Regions from separate parts of the Homo sapiens genome. Here region 2 is linked to region 1. Evidence: promoter capture Hi-C in human tissues and cell types (Jung and others, 2019). All regions are on one chromosome and are shown on one strand. Each heading gives the region's core, a stretch centred on a gene start or on the middle of the fragment in contact. The rest is flanking DNA. Distances are from core to core; before and after follow the strand shown. Region 1 holds the start of SAMD10 (sterile alpha motif domain containing 10). Region 2 has its middle 14 kb from the start of NPBWR2.

Region 1 (3,279 bases), core at 780-3,279:
ACACCTTTCATCTTGCAAGTCTACAGCCCTCACCCAGGGGAGCAGGATGGATTCTTAGATCAGAGGATGTGCCCTCTAGGGAAGGGAACCTGAGACATATGACAAGAGGAGCTATCCTGGGACAGCCCTGACCTCACCCTTGCCTTGGGCTGGCCCACAAGTCTTGCACACACCACACCAGACCAGGAAGTGCACACACGGCCTGCTTTGAGGAAAGGCAGATCCCGAGTCCGGGGAGGTCGTCTGTGCTGGGGAAACCGGGCTGAGGATGCTGCTTGCCCATCGCCACTGAAGGCACCCAGTTCACACAGCCCTATCTGGTGTTGGGGCCCGACTCACTGACTATGACTCATTGACAGCCTGAACTGTGGGCCAACTGACAAGCAGGGCTCACTCCGCAAACACGCGCTGGGCTCTCCAGCTGTGCCGCCCCCCACAGGGCCTGCAGCCCGGGACAACACCGGCCATGTGAATGGTGGGTACCCATTGGATATGGGCGGGTCAGCACAGGTATGTGGGGTGCAGCCATTGCTTGGGGACCCACGGTGATGCTCTGTGCTCCCTCTTCCCACAGTAACTGCATTAAAGTGTTTCATCTGAGCTTTGTCATCATCTCTGGGGGCACTGCTGACCTGAGTCTGGGGAGGCAGGCGTCTTGATCCAGGTCTGGTTACAGAGGGGCACCCCACATTCATTGTCAATGAATGAATGAATGAAGGCTCTGTATGGTATCTGCAAGTGAACAGAGCCTGTGGGGAGACAGAAGGTGGGCACAGGCCTGCCCCTGTCTTTACAGCACCCTAGCACCCAGGCCTTCAGCAGGGCAGGTGAGGTTCCCACGCTAGGGCCCTCATCCCATCCACCCTAGAGTGAGAGACCCTCCCGGCCTCAGACTCAGCCACCCACTCCACACCCAGGGCAGGGGTTGGGGATGTGTCTAGGAGGTCTAAGTATCGGTGAAAACCACATCCTACTTCCCCGTCCTCCCACGCCTGTAAGACTTAGGAGACATAACACCTTCCGCCCCCATTCTTGCAACTTTCAGGAACCGGACCCCTGGGTGACTCCAAATTTGAGGTCTGGGGTCAGCAGAGGGTGTGCTCAGTGGGCCACCGCCCCGAGGTGGCCCCTAGTGCTGTGGGAAAAGGCTTATTCTAAGCCCGCGCCTTCCAGCGGACAGGCGCCGTGGTCGCCGGGCTTTGCAGGGCCTCGAGCGGCGGGGCTGGTGCAGAAGCGCGCGGCAGTCCGGGGAAACCCGTCGGACTCCTCAGCCCGCACGGCACCTGCCCCGGCCAAGCAGGCTCCGCCCATTTCCTGCCTGCACTCCCGGAGGGAGTTCCGTCCGTCCCGCGGTCTGTCGGTCCGGTCCCTCCCGCCCCAACGTCAGGATTCCAGAAGGAAATGGGGCGGGGGCACCGAGGCGGGATGTGACCTCGGCCCCCTTTCGGCCCCACTGCAAAAGCGGGGGAGGGTTTTCCCCGTGCGCAGGAAAAGGTGACCCGAGCGTAGTGCCAGCCTGGACACAGGCGCCCCGGCTTGACACCCCCTCACCCCAAGCCAAGGGCGCGCTGACCCCCAAGGCCTGAGGCTGGCTGCCCCCTAAAGCAGGACAAAGGCTACGGGACCCCGTTGAGCCGAGACATCCGCCGAATACCCCCAGCCACCGCCGCTCGAAGCCCGCCGGGTCCCGCCCCGCCCCCGTGCCTCTGGGTCCCTGAGACCCCCGCCCGAGAAATCCCCGCTCCCCAATCCAGCCCCGCTCACCGTCCACATCCCGGCGCTCCCCGAAGCCCGCGCGCACGGCCCCGGCGCGGCCACGCGGGGGGCTCAGCTTGGACCTCAGCTCGGTGAACATGGGGCCCGCGGGTGCCAGGCCCGCGCACACGCCCCTCGCCGAGTGCAGGGCGGCCGGTGTGGCCGGCGGGGAACGCGCGCCGCCGCCCCGCCCCGCCCCAGCCGGCCCCGCGCCCGAGCCGGTCCCCGCGGCCCGCGAGTGTGCGCGACGAGGCACCTGCCGCCGAGCCCTGTGTGCCGGGCGCGCTCCGGGAGCTCCGAGGTGTGTCGGCGGCGCGCGGGCCTGCGTGCACCAAGGCTGTCCGCCAGGGCGAGGGGCGTCCGTGCGCCCCTGGGCACGGCTCCGCGGAGGAGAGTCCCCGTGAACCTGCCGGGCGTCCTCTGAGGTCGGGCCCCTCTGTGCGTGGGGGTGGGCTGAGGGGCATCTCACAGGGGTCTTCTACCTACCGGGGCCAGGACAAGGGGCAGGTCAACGCCTCCCACACACTTTCCTCGGTCTCCTACGTCTTTACTCGCCTTCAAATAGGCACCCGCTTCCCCGGAGAAACCAGCTTGACTCTTGCTTACCGCCCACCCCACTGTGAACATCAGGGTGGTTCTCCCTTCCCTCTGCAGCCCCAGAACCTGGCTCAGTGCCCGGGGGAGAGGGGGCGGTACAGTGCTCTGTAACTGAAAGGGGCTTGGCTTGCCTGGAGATGGGGCAGAGGGGAACTCCAAGGAGGCTGTAGCAGGCCGGAGCGGTGTGTTTGCTCCAGGACTCCAGTGAGAAGTGCTGAGATGGGGCTGGGCTAGGGAACTGTGGTTGCCTGGTGCAGCAGCAGGCCAGGCTTGCAACCAGCTATTCGGCTTGCTCTGCCCAGGAGCCTGGGTGCTCTCCCTGGGTGTATGTAGGGGCTCTGGAGGATGTCTTACAGCAGGAGGACCAGAGATGCACACAGACATGTAGAAATGCATGCACAGAGTACAGTCATGCACTTGCACCCAAAACACGAGCACACGTGACCTCTGTGCACACACCCCACTAATCACACACACAGAATTCACCCACATGCTTGACAGCCATGTTCATGTACTGACGTGTTCCCGACAGCTCAGCTGCGGTTATTTATTTCGTCAATTAGCTCTCCAGGAGCTAAGGATGTGGCCCTCACCAGAATGTCCAAGGCATGTTGGCGGGCGTGGGTGGGGTCTCTAGTCCCACTGGAGGGACAGATGCCTGAATGGGGGTTCAAGAATATGAGTGCTAAAAGCGTAGGGCAGCAGTGTGCGCACAGGACGCACACAGACAGGTGTGCCCATAACCAGTACACACAAGCTCTACACAACTGGACAGGGTACAGCTCTGCTCGGACAGGGCGCACCAGGGGCGAGGGCGGGCAGCTGGGCTGGTTCAGAGGGAGGGGGCCATGGGTTCAGAGGGAGGGGACCATGGGTCCCACTCTCACAGACAGGTCTCCGGACTGCATCAGAGCACTCGGGAAGCAG
Region 2 (5,808 bases), core at 2,054-4,553, 140 kb after region 1:
GAAGCTGTGCGGGGCATGAGGGCACCCTGATGTTGGGGGGGGTGTCTGGGCAAAGCTGCGCGGGGCATGAGGGCACCCTGATGTTGGGGGGGGGTGTCTGGGCAAAGCTGCGCGGGTCATGAGGGCACCCTGATATGGTGGGGGGTGTCTGGGCAAAGCTGTGCAGGGCATGAGGGCACCCTGATGTGGCGGGGGGGCCTGGGCAAAGCTGTGCGGGGCATGAGGGCACCCTGATGTTGGGGGGGGTGTCTGGGCAAAGCTGTGCGGAGCATGAGGGCACCCTGATGTTGGGGGGGTGTCTGGGCAAAGCTGTGCGGGGCATGAGGGCACCCTGATGTGGGGGGGGGTGTCTGGGCAAAGCTGTGCGGGGCATGAGGGCACCCTGATGTGGTGGGGAGGGCCTGGGCAAAGCTGTGTGGGGCATGAGGGCACCCTGATGTCGGGAGGGGGGCAGGCCTGGGCTCAGCCAGAAGACAGCCCCAGTTCCTCCAGCATGGCTGGGCCCCATCCCACCTCACTTCCTTCCATCTCCACCTTTGCCGACTCCTGGGATCTGAGCCTCCTCCTGGTCTGTCTCTGGTTCTGAATGCCTCCTATGTGCCGGGTGCTGACAGCTAAAGATACATCCGTGTTTCATTTTGTCTCCACAATGGCCAGGGGCAGTACTACTGTCATCCCATCTAGCAGATGGGAACAGGAGGCTCTGATGGAGTTTCCCTGGAGCGTGCTTGCTAACCGTGGAGCAACAGGGCACTCAGCTTCCGCACGGAGCTTCCCAGAGCCTGTGGCTTCCTCTCAGGGCTCCGGCAGTGTTGAATGTGGGGAGCTCACACTCTCACCAGGGAGACCTCATACCTGCTGCTTATCACCTGGGAGATGTTTTCTGCCCACAGAGGCTCCGTCACATCTCTGGCTGCTCGGGGAGGTGAGTGGGGCCCTGCTCACTCAGGACAAAGGAGGCTGAGGTGGAGCTCTAGGCCCCTCTTCCCCACCCACTTGAGTGCACCCCGAAGGCACGTGGAGTTCCTGGGGTGCTGCCTGTGGTCGGGCCAGAGACTGCTCCACTGTCCAAACTGTGCTCATAGGTATGTGGCCTGGGGACTGTTGCCGTGGAACCGGGTAAAGAGCCCTGTGGACCTGTGCTCCCAACTCAGGCCAGTCAAGGGTGCCACTGTGGCCTAGATAGTCTCCTGAGGGGAGCAGACCAGGTGGAGGTCAGGAGTACAGGTCTGGGACTGGCTTTTTCCTTGCTGTGTGGCCCAGGGTGAGTTACCCAACCTCTCTGAGCCTCTGTCTCCTCACTTGTCAAATGGGGATCGTAATTTTCCTGCCTCAGGCTGGAGGCTTGCACGTGTTGGGCCAGCCCCATCTGAGGTCCCACCTGCCCGTGCTGCTCTGGACCTGGTCTGGGGTTTCGGCCTTGGGCCTGGGCAGCTCAGGTGGATGCTTGGAGGGAGCACTGACCTCAAGTCAGCTGTGAGTAGGACGGGAGGCTGGTGAGCGGCAGCAAGCTGCAAGCCACAGGCAGGGAGAACTTCCCGGAGGTAGAGAGAGAGAGAGAGAGAGAGAGAGAGAGAGTGTGTGTGTGTGTGTGTGTGTGTGTGTGTGTGTGTGCGCCCTTCTTAGCCTGGGCAAAGAATTGGGAGACCAGCAGGCCAGCGCTGGCTCTGCCATGGAGGGGAAGCACTTTGAAGCCCCACTGTTCCTGGACTAGCTCTGCTGAACCACAGAGGGGCCGCCGTTTTCCCTTGGCTGGGGTAGAGGAACAGGGTCCTTCCTGTGGCTCCTGGCTGAGCCAGGTTCTGTGCGACGCGGACCAACCCTGACCCCCAGTGGCCAGTTCCGAGAACTGCTGCAGAGGAAAAGGGACCATTCAGTAGGGTGGGGGTGGGGGCTTGCGCGGCATTCATTTTCGAGTGGACATGGGGGCAGGCAGGCCAGTCTCTGATGATTTAAGGATGCTGTGGTTTGAATATTTGTCACCTCCAAAACTCAAGTTGGAATTTAATCCCCAATGTGGCAGTATTGAGAGGTGGGGCCTTTAAGAGGTGATTGGGTCACAAGAGCTCTGCCCTCATGAATAGATTAATTTATTTATAGATTAATGGGTTATCATAGGAGTGGGGCTAGTAGCTTTATAAGAAGAGAGAGACCTGAGCCAGCACGCTCAGCCCCTCACCATGCGACGCCCTGCACTGCCTTGGGACTCTGGGGTTCCCACCAGCAAGAAAACCTCACCAGATGTGGCCCATTGACCTTGGACTTCCCAGCCCGCAGAACTGTAAGAAATACATTTTGTTTCTTTTAAATTACCCAGTTTCTGTTATAAGCAGCAGGAAACAGACTAAGACAAGGGGCAAGCCAGCCTCTGCCCACAAGGAGCTCCATTCTGGTGTGGAGAGACCCAAACACACAACTATGCTCTTTGTCTTGCTAGAGACTTGTTTTGTGGTGGCCCCAACCTCAACTTGCCAGCAATTTGTAAAAGAACCAAGTCAATTTTACACAGCAAATTAAACCCCAGGGTAAATGTGTGTACCTGGATTCCAATAGTAGGTAAAGATTCTTAATGGTGAAAACTATGACTCCTGTTAAAACTCTTGTGTTCTGTTCTTACCACTGAGTTTAAACAACAACTCTGTGCTAATCGTATAAAGAATATTTTTGTCTGGACTGTCTACGGCCAAGTTCTCCACCCTGGATGTGCACAGAATCCCCTGGGGACTTCAGGAGCTCACTGGAGCTGGTTCCACCCCCATGCCCAGGCTCTGATGTGCTTGGTCTGGGCTGGGGCCTGGGCACCAGTGTTGTCCTAGTTTTGTGTTGCTATGAAGGAATATCTGAGGCTGGGTAATTTCTTTTTCTTTTTCCTAGGTGAGGAGAAGGATAGAGGCTGGGCCATTATAAAGAAAAGAGGTTTGTTTGGCTCACGGTTCTGCAGGGTGTACGGGAAGCACGGTGCCGGCACCTGCTTCTGGGGAGGCCTCAGGGAGCGTGCACTCATGGCGGGAGGTGTCTCATGGTAAGAGAAGAGGCGAGAGAGAGGGGCGATGCCAGGATTTTTTTAAAACAACCAGCTCGTGTGGGAACTAATAGAGCAAGAACTCACTCATCACCATGAGGAGGGCACTAAACCATTCATTCTGGATCCTTCCCTATGACCCGAACACCTCCCACCAGGCCCCGCCTCCAACATCGGGGATTAAATTTCAACATGAGGTTCGGGGACAAACGTCCAAACTATAGCAGGTATTTCTGAAGAACACCCAGGTGTTTCAAAGCTGGGGTGAAGCCGTGGGTTAACACTGTTTTTCAGACATGGCTGGAGACCTGGGGTTCCTACACCACAGAGTCTCCCTGCCAGAGTTCTCAGCTCCTGGGGAGGCTGAGGTGGGTGGATCACTTGAGGTCAGGAGTTTGAGATCAGCCTGGCCAACATGGTGAAACCCCGTCTCTACTAAAAATACAAAAAATGTAGCCAGGCGTGGTGGCACACACCTGTAATTCCAGCTACTCAGGAGGCTGAGGCACGAGAATCACTTGATCCTGGGAGGCGGAGGTTGCAGTGAGCTGAGATCTCACTACTGCACTCCAGCCTGGGTGACGGAGTGAGACACTGTCAAAAAAAAAAAAAAAAAGAAAGAAGAAAGAGAAGTATCATGATAAAAGAAATAATATTTTAAAAAAAGACAGTGTGGTATTTGCATCAAGATAGACAGATCAATAGAACAAATTAGAGATACCAGAAATAGACCCACAAATATGAGCAAGTGATTTTCAACAAAGCTGCAAAGGCAATTCAATAAAGGCAAGTTTTGTTCTCAGTAAATGATGCTAAACAGTTGGATATCCATATGCAAAAAAATGAACTTTGATCCATACCTTGTACTATATTAAAATATTGTCAATATGGATCATAAACCTAAATGTAAAAGCTAAAATTATAAAACTTCTATAAGAGGACATAGAAGAAAACCTTTGCAAACTTAGATCAGGCAAAACATTATTAGATAGGATATCAAAACATAATCCATCAAATAAATAAGATGTTTCATCAAAACTAAGAACTTCTGCTATTCCAAAGACACTGCTAAGAAAATGAAAAGACAAGCCCAAGGCTGTAAGACAATTTTTGCAAATCACATATTTGATAAAGGACTTGTATCCAGAGTATATCAAGAACTCTCAAAACTCAATAACGTTAATGGAAAAAAACAGATTCTGTAAAATATTTTAAAGAGGTTTATTCTGAGTCAATATGAATGACCATGGCCTGGAGAAAACAGTTTCGAGAGGTTCTGAGAAAGCCTGGAGAACACAGTTTCGAGTTTCCTGAGAAAGCCTGGAGAACAGTTTCGAGAGGTCCTGAGAAAGCCTGGAGAACACAGTTTTGAGTTTCCTTAGAAAGCCTGGAGAACACAGTTTCGAGAGGTGCTGAGAAAGCCTGGAGAACACGGTTTCGAGAGCTCCTGGGAAAGCCTGGAGAACACGGTTTCGAGAGGTCCTGAGAAAGCCTGGAGAACACGATTTCGAGAGGTCCTGAGAAAGCCTGGAGAACACGGTTTCGAGAGGTCCTGAGAAAGCCTGGAGAACATGGTTTCGAGAGGTCCTGGGAAAGCCTGGAGAACACAGTTTCGAGTTTCCTGAGAAAGCCTGGAGAACAGTTTCGAGAGGTCCTGAGAAAGCCTGGAGAACACAGTTTCGAGAGGTCCTGGGAAAGCCTGGAGAACACGGTTTCGAGAGGTCCTGAGAAAGCCTGGAGAACACAGTTTTGAGTTTCCTGAGAAAGCCTGGAGAACACAGTTTCGAGAGGTCCTGGGAAAGCCTGGAGAACACGGTTTCGAGAGGTCCTGAGAAAGCCTGGAGAACACGGTTTTGAGAGGTCCTGAGAAAGCCTGGAGAACATGGTTTCGAGAGGTTCTGGGAAAGCCTGGAGAACACAGTTTCAAGTTTCCTGAGAAAGCCTGGAGAACAGTTTCGAGAGGTCCTGAGAAAGCCTGGAGAACACAGTTTCGAGAGGTCCTGAGAAAGCCTGGAGAACACAGTTTCGAGTTTCCTGGGAAAGCCTGGAGAACATAGTTTCGAGAGGTCCTGAGAAAGCCTGGAGAACACAGTTTCGAGAGGTCCTGGGAAAGCCTGGAGAACACAGTTTCAAGAGGTCCTGGGAAAGCCTGGAGAACACAGTTTCGAGTTTCCTGAGAAAGCCTGGAGAACATGGTTTCGAGTTTCCTGAGAAAGCCTGGAGAACACAGTTTCGAGAGGTCCTGGGAAAGCCTGGAGAACATAGTTTCGAGAGGTCCTGGGAAAGCCTGGAGAACACAGTTTCGAGAGGTCCTGGGAAAGCCTGGAGAACACAGTTTCAAGAGGTCCTGGGAAAGCCTGGAGAACACAGTTTCGAGTTTCCTGAGAAAGCCTGGAGAACACAGTTTCGAGAGGTCCTGGGAAAGCCTGGAGAACACAGTTTTGAGTTTCCTGAGAAAGCCTGGAGAACATAGTTTCGAGAGGTCCTGAGAAAGCCTGGAGAACACAGTTTCGAGTTTCCTGAGAAAGCCTGGAGAACACAGTTTTGAGAGGTCCTGAGAAAGTGTGCCCCCAGCAGTCAGATTATACTTTGGTTTCATAGTTTTCAGAGAGGCAGGAGTTACAGGCAAAGACAGAAATCAATACATAGAAGGTAGACATTGGTTTGGCCCCAAATGGCAGGGTATCTTGAAGCAGGGTGTACAGGTTATATGTTGATTCAGAGATTCTTTAATTTGCAACTGGTTAAAGGTATAAAGTTTAATTAAAAAATTGGAGTCAGCAGAA

The links. Contacts are between HindIII fragments. The study calls those that stand out against the background at their distance.
Region 2: a fragment that was not itself captured here is called in contact with the fragment with the promoter of SAMD10 in region 1 in 1 of the 25 tissues and cell types used here (heart right ventricle).

The regions. Positions count from the first base shown.
Region 1 is chr20:63,977,613-63,980,891 of GRCh38, forward strand. SAMD10 (sterile alpha motif domain containing 10) reads right to left here and starts at 2,030. Exons shown (of 5, transcript NM_080621.5): 1 at 1,765-2,030. The coding sequence starts at 1,855. RefSeq lists enhancers at 1,184-1,478, 1,464-1,979, 2,575-2,634 and a silencer at 1,825-2,144. The HindIII fragment of the contact is 26,934 bases long and covers 1-3,279 here.
Region 2 is chr20:64,118,783-64,124,590 of GRCh38, forward strand. No RefSeq gene overlaps it. Among named protein-coding and RNA genes, the nearest start is that of NPBWR2, 14 kb to the left of the region's middle. RefSeq lists enhancers at 1,466-1,965, 1,634-1,928, 4,332-5,531. The HindIII fragment of the contact is 5,841 bases long and covers 384-5,808 here.